Linked DNA regions of Homo sapiens: region 2 is linked to region 1. The links are contacts of gene promoters, found by promoter capture Hi-C in blood cells and fetal thymus (Javierre and others, 2016). All regions are on one chromosome and are shown on one strand. Each heading gives the region's core, a stretch centred on a gene start or on the middle of the fragment in contact. The rest is flanking DNA. Distances are from core to core; before and after follow the strand shown.

Region 1 (3,195 bases), core at 328-2,827:
TAACTTGAAACAGAGATGTCGTTGGGGGTGGGGGGAAACCATGAAAATACAGATTGTTCTTGGTGGACTTTGTTCTCTTGAAAGTACAGAAAAGGGTTGAGTAAACTCTAGTACCTTTCCCTCGAAATCGTAGGAGACATTGAAAAGTAAGCGAGCCAGCTAGGAGGACAAGCTTCTACCTCTGCTCATTCCCCCCACCACCCCCCCACCGCCCCAGCCCCACTGCCTTCCTCATCCCAAATATTGTATGAATCAAGACAGTGGTTCCAAACAATTATATTTCTCCTTCCCAGTGCTTACATGTGGCCTGAAAATGCAGCGCCACCGGGGATACTGGCGCCTCCCGGAGCAAAAGTCACTGCCTCCCGGGGAGTCCTGGCTCGAGGTTTCTCCCTGGCGCAAATGCTATGGTGTTGGCTTTTGCGCGGCCCTCTCGCCTTCTCCAACAAAAACAGACAGGCTCGGCGGACCCGCCGGAGTCTCCCTCTACCTGTCCGACAGCCCTGTCACGCCTGCGGACGGCTCTGGGCAGGCGGCATGGACGAGGTCCCGCGGGAGTCACCCACACAAAGGCACCTTGTGCCTCTGCACTCGGGCCCCCGGGTCGCCGGGCACCGCACCGGGGCCAGGCAGGGAGAGCGCCCCCCGGCCCGAGTGCCGAGTCCCGAGATCGGCATCCCCAGCCCTCAACCGCCACAGAAAGGCCACCCCTACTCCCTGGTTTAAAGATAGGGCTCCCCTCGGCTTGCCACAATCCGCACCCTGGAAAGGAAGAGCTCGGAGCAGGTACGAGAGATAGGAGCGCACAGGCCACTCGGCAGAAGTTTGCATTGTCACCGGGCTGTGCCCTCACCGCTTCTCGCCGGGAGGAAGGGCCAAGTACCCTCTTCCCCAGCTCCTCGTCCGCCCCATCCCCGAGGCTGGAGGACTCCGGACCCCCCCAAGGCCCGCGCACCTCTAGTCCAGTCCACCACTTGTTTGGGGCTCCACTTGGTCACGGGTTCCATGGTAAACCGCTTCGCCTCTCGCTGGGCTGGAGAGTCGCAGATAAAGTGCTGCTGCCTGCGCTCCGGTGCCCCTTCCCGGGAGGGCGCGCCCGCGGCTGCTCCCCTGCGCCCGAGCGACTCCGTCAAGACTGCATGGCCGCGGTCAGCCAGTCGTCCCAGCGCGGCTCCGCCAGGGGAGCCCGGCCCTCTCCCTCCAGCTGCCACAGTCCAGCTGCAGCTCCTCCTTCCCCCGCCGCCGCCGGGATCCCGGGCACAGCTGCTGCTCCCGAGCGACGGCAGCTGCAGGCACGCCGGGCTGCGACCCCAGACCCCTGGCCTCGGCTCGGCACGGGAGCCTCCCGGCCCGCGACCACTTCCTCGGATCTCTCGAGGCGCGATCGGCTCTCCCTCGGCCGGTCTTCTCGCCTGCTGGCTCTCCGGGGTCCCCGCTCCGCGTGCGCTGGCGTCCCGGAGCCTTCCCGGCGCAGGTCCCACCTCCTGCGCCGCCCTCCCGTGCCGCCCTGGCAGGGCCGAGCGCAGAGCGTGCGCGCTCGGGTTGCAAAGTTTCAGCTCCGGTTGCTGCAAACCGAATAAAAGAGAGGGCGGGGCCGAGGGTCTAGGGAAACTCGTGGGAGGGGGCGGGTCCGCCCGAAGCGGCGGACTCGGGTTACTTTCCCTCTCTAAGCCGGTCCGGCTCACACCCGCAGCGTCCCGGGCCCCGCTTTCCTTTTCAAGGGGCGGGTTGTAGATCGCGCGCGCACCCTGGAGAGCCCGCTGGTTTGTGTGAGGCCCTGGCCCTGTGGGTAGCAGAACACTCTGTCTCGCTGTGAGCAACAATACACTAAAAAAAAAAGAAAAGAAAAAAAAAAGTAAGATCTGCATGTTCTGTTCATTTTAAATGCTTTATATCGTAATACTACTCTGCCATTAAGCCGTCATTTTAGGTTTCTTAAAGTAGAACAATTTTTTTTTTTAGATGGAGCCTCGCTCTGTCGCCCAGGCTGGAGTGCAGTGGCGCGATCTCAGCTCACTGCAGCCTCTGCCTCCCAGGTTCCAGCGATTCTCCCGCCTCAGCCTCCGGAGTAGCTGGGATTACAGGCGTCTGCCACTACGCCCGGCTAATTTTTGTATTTTTAGTAGAGACAGGGTTTCACCATGTTGGCCAGACTGGTCTCGAAATCCTGAACTCAGGTGATCCGCCAGCCTCGGCCTCCCGAAGTGCTAGGATTACAGGCCTGAGCCACCGCGCCAGGCCAGAACAATTTTATTTCATTTATATGTTGACTGAAATCGTAACAATGTAACTCTTTTAATGCTATTGCTATGAAATTTCAACTTTGCGACTAAAATTAGATTGATGGCTTTTAGCGTTATATTTTGCTATATTATAATTTCATATTTACAGAGTGAGCTAATGCTCCTTGGGATTAGTCATTAACCGTGAGAGGAAAGCTGTTAGCCAAGAAAAAAAAAATAGCTCGTGCACAATTTCAGCGCCTGGCAGGGGAGGGCCCTTCCACATTCATGGACTGCAACTGGGGCCAGAGTTAATGCTAAACTGGGGGAAAATCTAATTTGAATGCCTGCCTCTCCTTCAAGTTCTCCCTGCATCCTAACCGCCCCCCCAACCCCTGCCACCCTCGCCACCACCCCTCCCCTCACCCCCCAACACCCCCCCCAACCCCCCACCCCCGCCCCGCCCCGCCCAGCAACCTCTTCCTCCCACTCTTTTTGGCACTGAATGATTCTTACTTTCAATTACGGTTATTTATTTACATCTTCCTCTTGGAGACTATTAACCCCTTGAGGGCAGAACCTACTTGATCTCATATAGAGTTTTCTCTCCTCCCTTTCTTCCTACCACCTAACTTGTAGCACCCAGCACGGGACCAAAGGCAAGGTTGGTATTTATTCATTCAGTAAATATCCGGGAATGCTTCCTATGTGCCAGCCACTGTATTCATTCAGTATTTGTTGAATTCGTGTGATATGTGCTACTTACACAGGTCTGTTTGGACGCACATGTGGAAAAATAGCTAGCAGCCAGCCTAGCATCTGATGAGCTGGAGCATCCAAGCAAAAGAAACATTTTTAAAAAGCAAAACATCAGACCCACCTCCCATTCAACTCCCCTAGAGGACTGGGCAACACAGAGACACACAACTATCAAATATAGTGATTCTTTTTCTTCATCTAGCGAAAGTGACTG
Region 2 (3,315 bases), core at 471-2,970, 150 kb after region 1:
GCTCTCATAATCTCACTTATTTAGACCATCCTGGAGAGTAAGGACTATATCTTATTTATTTTTGTATTTCTTATGCCTGGCATAGAAAGTAATCGATAAATGTCTCTTACATGAATGAACAAATAAATGAATAAATTCTCCAGGGAGAGCAGAACAAGAGAGGTGATGATGGGTAGAAGGAGAAAGTACCCCAGGACTAAGAAGAGGGAAGGTGAGAGGGCCCCAAAGCAAAACAAAACAATGTTTTTGCCTAATTTGTAACTTTCTCCAGAATCAGAACTGCTGCTGCTGCTGCTGCTGCTGCTTTAGAAAGTAGATAAATTGTCTAGGCCTGGTGGCTCACACCTTGTGATGGTTAATACTGATTGTCAACTTGATTGGACTGAAGGATGCAAAATATTGATCCTGGCTGTGTCTGTGGGAGTGTTGCCAAAAGAGATTAACATTTGAGTCAGTGGGCTGAGGAAGGCAGACCCACCCTTAATCTGGTGGGCACCATCTAATCAGCTGCCAGCAAATATAAAGCAGGCAGAAAAACGTGAAAAGGAGAGACTGGCCTAGCCTCCCAGCCTACATCTTTCTCCCGTGCTGGACGCTTCCTGCCCTTGAACATCAGACTCCAAGTACTCTGGTTTTGGGACTCGAACTGGCTCCCCTTGCTCCTCAAGCTTGCAGACGGCCTATTGTGGGATCGTGTGATCCTGTAAGTTAATACTTAACAGCCTCCCCTTTATGTATAGAGAGATAGATCCTATTAGTTGCATCACCTTAGAGAACCCTGACTAATACACACCTATAATCCCAATACTTTGGGAGGCTGAGGTGGGAGAATCACTTGAGCCCAGGAGACCAGCTTGAGCAGCACAGTGAGATCCCATCAAAAAAACTGAAAAATTAGCCAGGCATGGTGGTGTGTGCCTGTAGTCCCAGCTACTCAGGAGGCTGAGGCGGGAGCTGTCTTGAACCCAGGAGGTTGAAGCTGCAGTGAGCTATGATTCACTCCAGCCTGGGCACCAGAGTGAGACCCTGTCTCCAAAAAAAAATTTTAAAACTAGATAAATATTCCTCATTCCCCACAGGCACAGGCACAGTGATGATGATGATGATGATGATGATGATGATGATGGTGATAATTCTGTGGAATAGGATTTAAAAAACTACCTTTTCTTAAAGTGGCTACAGCCCTTTTTGCAACTATCTTTCTACTACTTTTAGGAAGGCAGCTGCAATTTGTTTCAGTCTCTTGACTACATTAAGCATGTAACAGATAGGACTTTCACGCAAATATTGTCTCATGAAAAACTGGGATGAGGGCCTGAAGGGGGTGTGCAGGGCACTTCTCTGTCTCCATGAACTTACCAAATGCCCCTGGAGTGCTGTGCTGGTCCATACAACTATCCAGCCTGGGTGGTACCCTACGCTCAGTGCATACGCTTTGTTCTATTACTTTTTTTTACCTTAGTAAGAAAACTTAACATGGCATCTACCCTCCTAACAAAACTTTAAGTGCACAATATTGTTAAGCAGAGGCTCAATGTTGTACAGATCTCTAGAACTGAAAGTTATACCTGTTGAACAGCAAATCCCATTTTCCCTTTCCCCTACCCCCTGGCAGCTGGCAATGACCATTCTCCTCTCTGCTTCCATGAATTTGACTACTGTAGATACCTCAGATAAGTGGAATCATGCAGTATTTGTCCCTCTTTGACTGGCTTCTTTCCCTCGGCACAATGTCCTCAAAGTTCATCCATGTTGTCACATATGGCAGGATTTTCTTTTTTAAGGCTGAATAATACTCCGCTGTATGTACATGCCACATTTTCCTAATCCACTCATACATCAACAGACATTTAGGTTGTTTGTACCTCTTTGTTATTGTAAATAGTGCTGCAGTAAACATGGGAGAGCTAATATCTCTTCGAGATCTTGATTTTTAATTCTTTTGGATAAAAACCTAGTAGTGGGGTTGCTAGATCATATAATAGTTCTATTTTCAATTTTTTGAAGAACCTCTATAAGGTTTTCATAGCAGATGCACTATTTTACATTCCTGCCGACAGTGTGCAAGGTCTCCTGTTTCTCCACATCCTCACCAACACGTGTGATCCTTTTTTTCTTTTTCAATAATAGTCTCCCTAGCAAATGTGAAGTGATATCTCATTGTGGTTTTTATTTGCATTTTCCTGATGACTAGTAATGTTGAGCATTATTTTATACACCCGTTCGCCATTTGTATGTCTTCTTTTGAGAAATGTCTATTCAGGACCGGGCGCGGTGGCTCATGCCTGTAATCCTAGCACTTTGGGAGGCTGAGGTGGGTGTATCACGAGGTCAGGAGATCGAGACCATCCTGGCTAACATGGTGAAACCTCGTCTCTACTAAAAATATAAAAAAAAAAAAAAATAGCTGGGCATGGTGGTGGGCGCCTGTAGTCCCAGCTACTAGGGAGGCTGAGGCAGGAGAATGGCGTGAACCCGGGAGGCGGAGCTTGCAGTGAGCTAAGATCATGCCATTGCACTCCAGCCTGGGGGACAGAGCGACACTCCGTCTCAAAAAAAAAAAAAAAAAAAAGAAATGTCTATTCAGGTCCTTTGCTCATTTTTCAGTCAGGTTATTTGTTTGTTGTTGTTGTTATTTTCCCTATTGAGTTGTAGGAGTCCTTTACATATTTTATATATTAACCTCATGTCAGATATATACCTTGAAAATATTATCGCTCATTCTGTAGGTTGCCTTTTCACTCTGCTCATTGTTTCCTTTGCTGTGCAGAAGAAGCTTTTCAGTTTGATGTAGTCCCACTTGTCTATTTTTACTTTTGTTGCCTGCACAAAACACATAAGTCTAATAAAATAGAAAATAAACATGTCTAGGTGGATGCTTCCTCAACAAGACACTGTCCAGCTCAACCAACAAGCCAAGATCAGCCTTCAGAGGAAAACACTAAAAGGATTTCTGCTGAAAACAGGAAAAAAGACAAGGTTGTCCTTTACCATCATTTTTTTTTTTTTTTTGAGATGGAGACTCACTCTATCGCCCAGGCTGGAGTCCAGTGGCCCGATCTCAGCCCACTGCAACCTTCCGCCTCCCGGGTTCAAGCGATTCTATTGCTTCAGCCTCCTGAGTAGCTGGGATTACCGGCACGCGCCACCATGCCTGGCTAATTTTTGGATTTTTAGTAGAGATGGGGTTTTACCAGGTTGGTCAAACTGGTCTCAAACTCCTGACCCTGTGATCCACCTGCCTCGGCCTCCCACAGTGCTGGGATTACAGGCGTGAGCCACCGCACCTGGCCGTACCACCGTTTTTATTTAGCG

What was found. Contacts are between HindIII fragments. The CHiCAGO score rates a contact against its expected background, and 5 or more counts as called.
Region 2: a fragment that was not itself captured here is called in contact with the fragment with the promoter of CNKSR3 in region 1 in 3 of 17 cell types (endothelial precursors, erythroblasts and M2 macrophages); the score reaches 8.1 in endothelial precursors.

Annotation. Positions count from the first base shown.
Region 1 is chr6:154,509,108-154,512,302 of GRCh38, forward strand. CNKSR3 (CNKSR family member 3) reads right to left here and starts at 1,578. Exons shown (of 13, transcript NM_173515.4): 1 at 956-1,578. The coding sequence starts at 1,007. It overlaps LOC101928868 (a long non-coding RNA gene), which reads left to right and starts at 1,684. Exons shown (of 2, transcript XR_001744422.2): 1 at 1,684-1,855. The HindIII fragment of the contact is 4,325 bases long and covers 171-3,195 here.
Region 2 is chr6:154,655,744-154,659,058 of GRCh38, forward strand. No RefSeq gene overlaps it. Among named protein-coding and RNA genes, the nearest start is that of SCAF8, 76 kb to the right of the region's middle. The HindIII fragment of the contact is 2,108 bases long and covers 667-2,774 here.